Regions from separate parts of the Homo sapiens genome. Here regions 1 and 3 are each linked to region 2. The links are contacts of gene promoters, found by promoter capture Hi-C in human tissues and cell types (Jung and others, 2019). All regions are on one chromosome and are shown on one strand. The core of a region is centred on a gene start or on the middle of the fragment in contact, and the rest is flanking DNA. Distances in the headings are between cores, read along the strand shown.

Region 1 (3,432 bases), core at 871-3,370, 280 kb before region 2:
TCTTTCTCCCATACCATAGTTATCTTTCTTTTATTACTCTTAGGATTTGCTCTTGAACTCATTAATTTAAAAACCAACCTACTACTAACTAGTAATACTTCTTTTATTATATAAAATCATCTTGCAGCATTTATTTCCTTGTTTTCTTAATGTCTTGGACTCTTCTATGGGTTATAAGTAATATACTGCATCCCCTATAATGACTAAAAGTACTGTGTACATAAGTAGGCTTAAAGCACATTCTACTTTTCAATGTGATTTCACATACATTTGGGATGAAACAAAAGACCTGTAAAGATAATGATTATTGTTCTACCTAGACATGACTTAATGTTAAAATCACTTGCTTGTCAAAGACCTTAGTATTCAAAATAATGGACAAATTTACTCTCAAAACAAATTCACTCCTTTGGAAGGACTGGCTTACAAACAAAACTTCTACAAACTAATCATAGAATTTCATAAAGTATAAGGTGCTATGTTAAGTGATTTACATTAATTCATTAACCTTTTGAGATAGGTGCTATTACATTACCACCTTATAGATGTTAGCTCTAGGGCACGGAGTTAGAGAAATTTGCTTAAGGTCACAAGTGGCAGAACCTGGGTTCAACCTATGCAGTGAGTCCAGACATTTTGCCCCTAAGTACTATAATATACTATACTATACTATACTATACTATACTATACTATACTATCTATACTAAATTACTCAATACATAATTTTAAGAAGATTTTGGTTGTTTTTCTGCAGAATCTAAGTTTGTTTTCCTTAACTGATCAAAGACGTGCTACTGTTGAAAAAGTATTAAGCTTTGGTTCAGATGACTTAATGGTCATTTGACAAATATGTTTGGGCACCTACGTACACTTAGTATTATTAAGTACCTGCCTAGTGCTAAGGATTTGCACATAACTCATTTACTAAATCCTCCCGACAAGTTTGTGAGTTTGGTATTGCTAATCTTAAAGATGAGGAAATCTGGGCACTGCAAAATAACTTATACAAACTCATAAGGCAAATAAATGACAGGGCTCCAATCTCTTAACTCCATTAACTACTTAAATATAAGGAAAACCTGGCAGCCATTGCTCTGGAAAACTGGAAAAGAAGAATCGGGAGCCACGGGAAGAAGGAAAATGCCAAGCTTCTGGTCCCACAGTCTCACTCTCCCCAGGATCCCACCTTATGCCGCCAACAAACTAACCTCATTACTAGCGACACCAGGAAACTTATCAGAGATTCGGGGATCTAGAGAGCCAGTCCCACAGTCTCACTCTCCTCAGGATCCCACCTTATGCCGCCAACAAACTAACCTCATTACTAGCGACACCAGGAAACTTATCAGAGATTCGGGGATCTAGAGAGCCAGGCTCTGGGCAGGCGCTTAAACATTTATAAACTGATTCCCTTTAGGCAACTCTCACCAAGCAAGAAGCATTTAGCGAAGGCCAGAGCAGAGCACTGACCCAGGAGCCCTGGAGGAGCAAATGCCAAGGTCCCAGACCTGTCTGCCTGTTTCGCCTGTAATCCCAGCACTTTGGAAGGCCGAGACGGGCGGATCTCCTGAGGTCGGGAGTTCGAGACCAGCCTGACCAATATGGAGAAATCCACATCTCTACTAATAATACAAAAATTAGCCAGGCGTGGTGGCGCATATCTGTTCCCAGCTACTCGGGAGGCTGAGGCACGAGAATCGCTTGAACCCGGGAGACAAAGACTGTGCTAAGCCGAGATCGCGCCATTGCACTCCGGCCTGGACAACAAGAGCGAAACCCCTCTCGAAAAAATAAATAAATAAATAAAATAAGTACGGGCAGGGCAGGCCGGCTTCCATCTCTCAGATCCTCCCTGGTACTTATTCAACCCCCGACAAACTCCTTCTGGCCGCTCCTACACCCCAGGCCTGGCCGGGCCTCCCCTGCTTCCTCTCACCGTCCTTCATCTGGACAATATTGCTGGCGGCCACCCGGTCGGAGGCGACAAGAACATAGTCGGGGCCTTGGATACCGATGAGGTACTCCATGGTGGCGGAAGGCCAGGGGCTGCAGGTCCGACACAGCACGAGACTCGCCCGCTTCCAGGTCTCACCGGTGAGACAGCACCTCAGAGCGAAGATTGGCGCGACGCCTGCAGCACGACTTCCACGGCGCTCTCGGATGACGTACAACTGTCGCGAGAGGTTGCAAAGCGGGCGCGGCGCCGGGTGCCTTATGTTCAGTGCTTGTCTCTGGGATCGTACGGGTCTCCTCCGGAGCAGGCTGTGCAGGTCACTTGCCTTATGTGACGCCCAGTTTCTCTGTTTACACACTAAGATTTTAAAAGTGGCTTTAGGATAAAATCACGCAGTGTATGTAAGGTGCCGAGCACGTGTGGGTGTCAAAAAGGGGTAGGTAGCCAGGCAGCCGTTTCCCTACGTTGCTCGGTAAAATCTCCCCAGAAACCCCTTTCCTGCAAGCCAGATTGGAGAAAAATTAACTTGAGGGGAGCCTTACTTCCATCCTTCACAAAAATAGTATATGGTTGGATTAAAGATATAAGCATGGCCGGGCGCAGTGGCTCACGCCTGTAATCCCAGCACTTTGGGAGGCCAAGGCAGGCGGATCACCTGAGCTTGGGAGTTCGAGACCAGCCTGACCAATATGGAGAAACCCCGTCTCTACTAAAAATACAAAATTAGCTGGGCGTGGTGGCGCATGCCTGTAATCCCAGCTACTCTGGAGGCTGAGACAGAGAATCGCTTGATCCCTGGAGGCGGAGGTTGCGGTGAGCACTCCAGCCTGGGCAACAAAAGCGAAACTCCGTCTCAAAAAAAAAAAAAAAAAAAAAAAAAAAAAAAAAAAAAAAAAAAAGAGAGGGAGAGAGATACAAACATGGAAGAAAAAGTAGAAAAATATTTCTGTAATTTTTGGAAGAGATGTGTTTCTAAGCTTGACAGGGAACCCAGAAGCAATATGAGAAAAGACTTGACAGATTTGACTACCTAAAATTACACGTCTCTATGTGGTGAAAGTCATTATCATGCTCAACAGTAAATGTAAATTGGGAATGTTTCAATTGTAGAAATAGTTACTATTTTGGACCTTATAGACAGAAGAAAGGAAAAAGTTAATATCTATAACTTAAAAGATATTCCTACAAACCAATGGGAGGGGAGCCGGGTGAGACAATACCATTTTTAAAAGACCCGGCAGGGCACGGGGGCGGATCAAGAGGTCGGGAGTTCGAGAACAGCCTGGCCAATATGGTGAAACCCCGTCCCTACTAAAAATACAAAAAATTAGTTGGGCGTGGTGGCAGGCGCCTGTACTACTCCGGAGGCTGAAGCAGGAGAATTGCTTGAACCTAGGAGGCGGAGATTGCAGTGAGCCGAGATAGCGCCCCTCCACTCCAGCCTGTGCAACAGAGAGACTCCATCTCAAAAAAAAAAA
Region 2 (3,270 bases), core at 256-2,755:
TGAATTATCTACCCAGCCATATTCTTAACAGTGATCCTGTTCCCCTATTATCAGCCATCTTCTCTGCCCAGCCTGGGACCCCTCACCTTCCTATCTTCCCAGGGCACCAGCCGACCATCCCATTACTATGTTCTTTGGGATGACAACCGTTTCACAGCAGATGAGCTCCAGATCCTGACGTACCAGCTGTGCCACACTTACGTACGATGCACACGCTCTGTCTCTATCCCAGCACCTGCCTACTATGCCCGCCTGGTGGCTTTCCGGGCACGATACCACCTGGTGGACAAGGAGCATGACAGGTGAGGCCTGGGATCAGGTTGGCCTCCTTTTTGCTTCAGCCTATTGTGCCAGATCTTCTTAACTTTCCTTGGGTAGAAGGAAATGAGTGCTGTCCAATTTGGTGTCATTGGGCTCGTCTGCCCAATCCTGGGTTGGGTTTCTCTCTTAAGTTGGTATGGGAATTGGCATCCCAGGGCTGGGCGAGGGAATTAGCAGCAGCTCTCAGTTCACCAGGAAGGACTTCTTTCATTTTTTCCTTTTCAGTGGAGAGGGGAGCCACATATCGGGGCAGAGCAATGGGCGGGACCCCCAGGCCCTGGCCAAAGCCGTGCAGGTTCACCAGGATACTCTGCGCACCATGTACTTCGCTTGAAGGCAGAACGCTGTTACCTCACTGGATAGAAGAAAGCTTTCCAAGCCCCAGGAGCTGTGCCACCCAAATCCAGAGGAAGCAAGGAGGAGGGAGGTGGGGTAGGGAGGAGTGTAGGATGCCTTGTTTCCTTCTATAGAGGTGGTGTAAGAGTGGGGAACAGGGCCAGCAAGACAGACCACCAGCCAGAAATCTCTGATATCAACCTCATGTCCCCCACCCCTCACCCCATCTTGTCACATCTGGCCCTGACCCCACTGGACCAAAAGGGGCAGCACTGGTGCCCACCATACACACAGGTGTCTCATGTGACTCACAGTGCTAAAGACTCATGCTTGACAGCTTGGTAAGGTCAACTCTGTAGCCCTGCAGACAAAAGCTGGTTAGGTTTGGGTTTGATACTTTAGATGGGAAAGTGAGGGGCTTGAGAAAGTGGGTGGGAGGAGGGAAGGATTTTTTAGGAGCCTTAATCAGAAAAGGACTAGATTTGTTTAAGAAGAAAAATGAAACCAGACCCAGATCAATATTTTAGGATACTAGATGTTTTAATGGGTTCAGAATCCAGTTTGTAGGAAGATTTTTTAATGGTTTTGGTTGCTCCTCCCCCAGCTGCCACCCCCCACCTTACCCTTATTCCTCTCTGTCCACATTTTCTGCCCCACCTTACTTCTCCTCCCTGACAGACATCCAGCCCCTAGTAATACTTAAGGCACTATGGCACTTAGCTTTGAAGTGACACGACCCTGTCTTCCTTCCGCCCGCTGGTGGGTAACCAGTGCCTTCCCTGTAACGGTAATGCTGCAGAACTGCAACCTTTTGTACCTTTCTTTGGGGAATGGGGTGGGGGTGGGAGAGGAGGTAGATGGGGAAGAAATACCCCAGACCCAACAAACCTCCAGCCAGAAAGCCAGCTATTTTGCATTTGAAGGAATTGACTTCCTCATTCATTGAGCTTTTTAAAAGATCACAACCTCAAGATGGTTAAAATCCATTGACATTTGCACTTTCAAACATGACAAGTCTCGGAGCTGCTGAGATGACAGGCCCCTGGCCTTTCCACTTATGCCTCCTTTTCTCCTTATTCCTCCTACCTCCCGCCCCGCCCAGGTCTGGAGTTACTTTCATAGCATTTTTCACTCTTGGCTTCTTTTCTCCCTTGATGGTCAAGTCTCTTATGTTTCAATATTTCTTAACTGGGGTGTCTTATAACAAAAAACTCTTAGGTCTAAAATGAGAAAAAAGAGAGAAAACAAAATGTTATTTTTATACCATAACTTGAGTGTATTGCCAAAATTTGGAAATCCTTCCCATGCCTGATGAGTTTATATCCCAGAAACATTGAGCCATCAGAATGAACTGTGTACCTGATTTGTTCTCTGACCTGGCTAGGTAGGGAGGGGGTGGTTATCGCCCCAAGATGGGGTCCAGGCTCCATCCTTCCTCTGTGCAGATAATACCTTTTTCTTGCTATAGCCTCCCTCCTCTGCACTGTCCTGCACTCTTTCTTGCAAGTGCATCTTTTTCCTTCCCCTGGACTGTCCTCTGACCCTTTGGCTCATCCTAGATTGCAGTGTGTCCTGTGGACAGGCTGGGGAATTTTGCTGCTCCCTATTGCTTCTGTTTACAAAAATGAATTTTTCCTGGTTTCCCACTAGGGCATGTGGGTGGGTGGCATGGACTTTTTTTTTTTTTTTTTTTTGTCTTGAGACATGGGGTTTGGCTGTCTTGCAGGACTGGAGAAGGTGGTGGTTCTAGCTTGGTCTCTGTTGGCCTTGAAGCAAGCATCCCCCCTGCCCTTTTTCCTTGACTGTTCATTTTTTTCCTGCCCCACTGCTTGGGATGGGGAGTTGCAACTTCAGTGTGGAATTTCCTCTTTGAGGAGCCTGGGCTTGGATCTATCCTGATCTGGTGATGAAGCCATGATTACTTTAGACCTAGCCCAGGCTTGGAGGCCAGCTGGAGGAAGAAGGGTCTAAATCCTGGCCTGTAGAGTTAGAACTACCATTTCCTCCCCTTAGCTGCCCTTGTATGACCCGGATTTGCTATGCAAAACAATCTATCCCAGGTTCTGTTCTGGTTGGCTACATTGTTCAGCAACTCACAAAACGTAGCACAAACATTCATTATGGAGAAAGCATCAGGACTGTTGAGTAACTCCTCCTTTACTTTTTTCCTGCTGGCTACAGCATGGGGTGCCCTATAGGCACAAGCCCAGCTGAAGAACAGAATGGAGGGCTCTGGGAGGAGGCAGCTCACTGGAGAGCCTACATTCCTTACACAAGTGCCTAAAGAGAGTGATGCTAACACTCCATCTGCCCTGTCCATTGCCTTCATATACAGTCTACTTCGTGTTCTGTCACCCTTTGGGGAGGGGAGTTCTCCTGGGACAGTGGGCTCTGCATGTTCTCCACTTGGATACATTTTGGGGCTAGGATCAGGGCACTATTCCTGGAGGGTCCAGTCATTCACCAGCATTTGCAAATGTCCATAGGGAGCAGGTGGCAGCCTCTACTCCCAGCAACAAGTTTGTGTTCTCTCCTTTTCTCTCTTTGCCTCACTCTCTCCAGTTGGTTTTCAGCTGGGGCTTGAAATGCATTTTTAGCCCTTTGACGTGGCTT
Region 3 (3,373 bases), core at 130-2,629, 350 kb before region 2:
TTTTATTGGTGTTGTCGAAGTTGCAGAAACTGAGATCACAGAGGAAACGGGATGTAGCTAGGATCACACAGTTAGGCAGAGTCAGGACTAAATCCAAGCCCCTGAGTCTGAGGCAGTAGAGAATAGTGATTCTGAGCAGAGAGGGGCCAGGGGCAGATCACCCCAGCTCTGCCACTTAGCTGCTTGACCTTGGGCAAGCCATTTAACCTCTCCATGCCTCACCCCTCCCCTGAAAATGGGGATGATATGGGTATCTCTTTCATAGAGCTGCTGTGAGGGTTAAAGAACCCAATATTCGTGAAGCACTTTGCACAGAGGCTGGCACATTCTGTAATAAGTCTGCTGTGATTATTTCTACTTTGCCCTGGTCTGCACATCTTGCTTTTAAAAAACATCTTTCTTCTGCTTTCTTAATTCCTGTTCTCCTTAGCATTCCTCTCATTTGTCCATCTTTAATCCCTGTCTCTGCTTGTCAGGAGGGGAGGGTTGGGTTTGGGGAGAAAGAGAGAGTGACTACAGAGACTGGAACTTGCTTGACAGCCAGGGAGTGCCTGCCATGGTAACACAGGAACATGTAGCCTGCGCATGTTAGTGTAACAATCACACGGCATCCATGCTAGTCAGTTACACACAGTCACTCAACAGTCTCTGGGTATCTCATGCCCACACTCAATCAGCCCAGGACCCTGTGGCTTCAGAAATATCTTGGCCCCTTGTCAGGTGGAGCTCATACCCAAACCCATCCCAGGCAAGTCTCTCTCTCTGTCTGGCCAGCTTCTGTCTCCAACTCCCTCAGAGCCTGGCTTGGCTTGGAAGTTTTCAGCCCAGGAAGCCTGAGAGCGAAGTGGGCACCTTCGAGGGATTTTGATCCAGAACCATTCAGGAAAGACTGTGATGGTAGACCCCCTAAACACACGCACTGACACTGTGTGCGCATGAGCAGATAGGCTGGAGTCTTCAGCTCACAAACTTCTTCCACGTTCCCGATTACCCACCTCATCCAAAGTCTCTTGAGGTGCTTAGAGAAAGGATTGATACCTATTTTACCGAGGAAGCTGAGGCCAGCGAAGAATAGTGCTTTGCTTAAAGGCAAGGATGTGATAGAGCCAGGCAAATGTAGGGCCCTTGCGTCCCAGCCTCGAATATTTCTGTTTCACTGCAGCTGCGAGCTGCGAGCCCAGAAGGCGGCTCTGATCAATGTGGGCTGAATTCACGCCCCCTACCCACCCTACCCGATCCCGCCAAAGCCACTGCCTCCCCTGTGGCAGCCGCTGGGGAAAAGGGAGAGAACTGCCATAGCTTGTCTCTTTAATGCGCGCCCCCGGAGGCCCGGCGCGCCCCCGCCACTATAACTGGAGTGCATGGAGCAGGCTACGCTCAGAGGAGGAAGGGCGGGCGCTGGGCACCCGTTGACCGACTTTTCCAAGTGCGATCAGTGCCCGTCCGTCCTGCCTCCATGGACCCGCCCGGGAACGGCCACCGCTGAGGACCCCACGCCCACTAGGATCCCGGCTGGGTCGCACCCAGCTACCGCACCGTGACCTCCGCGGGCTGTGCCGGCTCCCGGCGCCTCTGCCCGCAGCGCTCGCCGTCGGGCTAGGGCTCCGCCGCCGCCACGCCTCGCGCCCGGCACTCACCGCCCCATGCTGGTGCACACCTACTCCGCCATGGTGAGTAGTCTCGGGCCCGGGACATATTCGGCCGGGGGATCGGGGCGCCTGAGTGCTGGACTTTCCAACCCTCCTGTCCCGCGCTAACGAAATCTCGGAGGGAGGGGGCCGCAGGGACTTCGCCAGCTGAGAACGCGATGCGCAAGTGACCGCTGTCCCCAGCCTGAGGCTCCTGCGCCCGCGGGTGGCTCGGAAATAAACCTCGGGCCCCAAGAAACGGGAGGGACTGCAGCTGAACCCTCCCGAGCTGAGGAGGATCCTTTCAGGCTGGGGTCCTTTCAGCTGCCAGTGGGTCACCTAAGGCACCCCTCTCCTTCCCCAGGAGCGCCCCGACGGGCTGGGAGCAGCTGCCGGCGGGGCCCGCCTGTCGTCTCTGCCCCAGGCGGCCTACGGGCCGGCGCCCCCGCTCTGCCACACGCCGGCCGCCACAGCTGCCGCCGAATTCCAGCCGCCCTACTTCCCGCCGCCCTACCCGCAGCCACCGCTGCCCTACGGTCAGGCGCCCGACGCCGCCGCAGCCTTTCCCCACCTGGCAGGGGACCCATATGGCGGCCTGGCGCCCCTGGCGCAGCCGCAGCCTCCTCAGGCCGCCTGGGCCGCGCCCCGCGCAGCCGCCCGCGCCCACGAGGAGCCTCCCGGCCTGCTGGCACCGCCCGCCCGCGCCCTGGGCCTTGACCCGCGCCGTGACTATGCCACTGCCGTGCCCCGGCTCCTGCACGGCCTGGCCGACGGCGCGCACGGCCTGGCAGACGCACCTCTCGGCCTTCCGGGGCTGGCGGCGGCCCCCGGTCTGGAGGACCTGCAGGTGAGACCCGAGGGATCCGGGATGGGTCGGGACTGGCCGCGGTGGTTTACTACCATGGCTGGAGGCAGAAGGTGACAAATGCAGGAAGCCGACTTTTCTCCCAGCTCGCCACATCTCACTGGTGACTCCGAGGATGTGTCCCACCTCCTGGGTTAGACGTTGCCTGGCCATCAAGGCTGCCTGGCACTGAGTCCGCCAGCAGTGCGTGGGTGGCAGCAACCCTCGGCAGGGACCGAATCACTTCTTTTCTCCCCGCTGCCACGTGTGGCATCCATGGGGCAGCCTGCACCTGGGGCGAAGAGAAGCATAATAGTTACCAGTGTAAGATTCAAAATTCCCTTTTTGCACTGCACAGTGAGATGCCCAGGGCTCCAGCTCAGTGCCTGGACATAGCGATTCCTGGGCCTGCCCGTCGCCGCCCCAAGCGAAGCTGGTGCGCCTTGGGCGGAGCAGACAGAGACCCTGGGTGGCAGGGGCTTGGGAAGACATGGGCGGCTAGGGCTTTATGCGCCCTCACCGCTGCCCTCTGCTATTTGCAGGCAATGGACGAGCCGGGAATGAGCCTCCTAGACCAGTCCGTGATCAAGAAAGGTAAGGAATGGTCTGTCAGGGCAGAGCCCGGCGAGATGGTGCAGGCCCTTGGTGCACAGATCCATTTTCTTCACCGGCCGTGCCTCCTGTGTGTCGCCAGGCTGGGTGTCCACCAGGCACTCTTCCTGGCCCAGCCAGATGTTAGGCAGACGTGCGGGCTTGGTGAGTTTGCCCAGCACCCTGTGGCCTGGGGTGGGCCTCAGCGGATCAGCATTCACTGGGCTGCAGCACTGGGAGCCTGGCCTCTCCCCGCCGAGGGGGAGGGCACTCTTGTGGATCTGGAGTTGATTTGCAGAACGAGTTAAAC

The links. The method cuts DNA at HindIII sites, captures the fragments that hold promoters and counts their contacts. A contact is called where the count stands out against the background at its distance.
Region 1: a contact is called between the fragment with the promoter of PSMB2 here and a fragment that was not itself captured in region 2, in 1 of the 25 tissues and cell types used here (mesenchymal stem cells).
Region 3: a contact is called between the fragment with the promoter of TFAP2E here and a fragment that was not itself captured in region 2, in 1 of the 25 tissues and cell types used here (adrenal gland).

The regions. Positions count from the first base shown.
Region 1 is chr1:35,639,406-35,642,837 of GRCh38, forward strand. It overlaps PSMB2 (proteasome 20S subunit beta 2), which reads right to left and starts at 2,121. Exons shown (of 6, transcript NM_002794.5): 1 at 1,937-2,121. The coding sequence starts at 2,027. RefSeq lists enhancers at 1,096-2,061, 1,850-2,309, 2,062-3,026. The HindIII fragment of the contact is 3,605 bases long and covers 981-3,432 here.
Region 2 is chr1:35,918,953-35,922,222 of GRCh38, forward strand. AGO1 (argonaute RISC component 1) reads left to right here. Exons shown (of 19, transcript NM_012199.5): 18 at 103-302; 19 at 547-3,270. The coding sequence ends at 655. Among named protein-coding and RNA genes, the nearest start is that of AGO3, 11 kb to the right of the region's middle. The HindIII fragment of the contact is 4,306 bases long and covers 1-3,270 here.
Region 3 is chr1:35,571,935-35,575,307 of GRCh38, forward strand. It overlaps TFAP2E (transcription factor AP-2 epsilon), which reads left to right and starts at 1,380. Exons shown (of 7, transcript NM_178548.4): 1 at 1,380-1,670; 2 at 1,993-2,475; 3 at 3,015-3,066. The coding sequence starts at 1,644. It overlaps TFAP2E-AS1 (TFAP2E antisense RNA 1), which reads right to left. Exons shown (of 3, transcript NR_183387.1): 2 at 2,426-2,764. RefSeq lists enhancers at 1,344-1,843, 2,085-2,831. The HindIII fragment of the contact is 7,667 bases long and covers 1-3,373 here.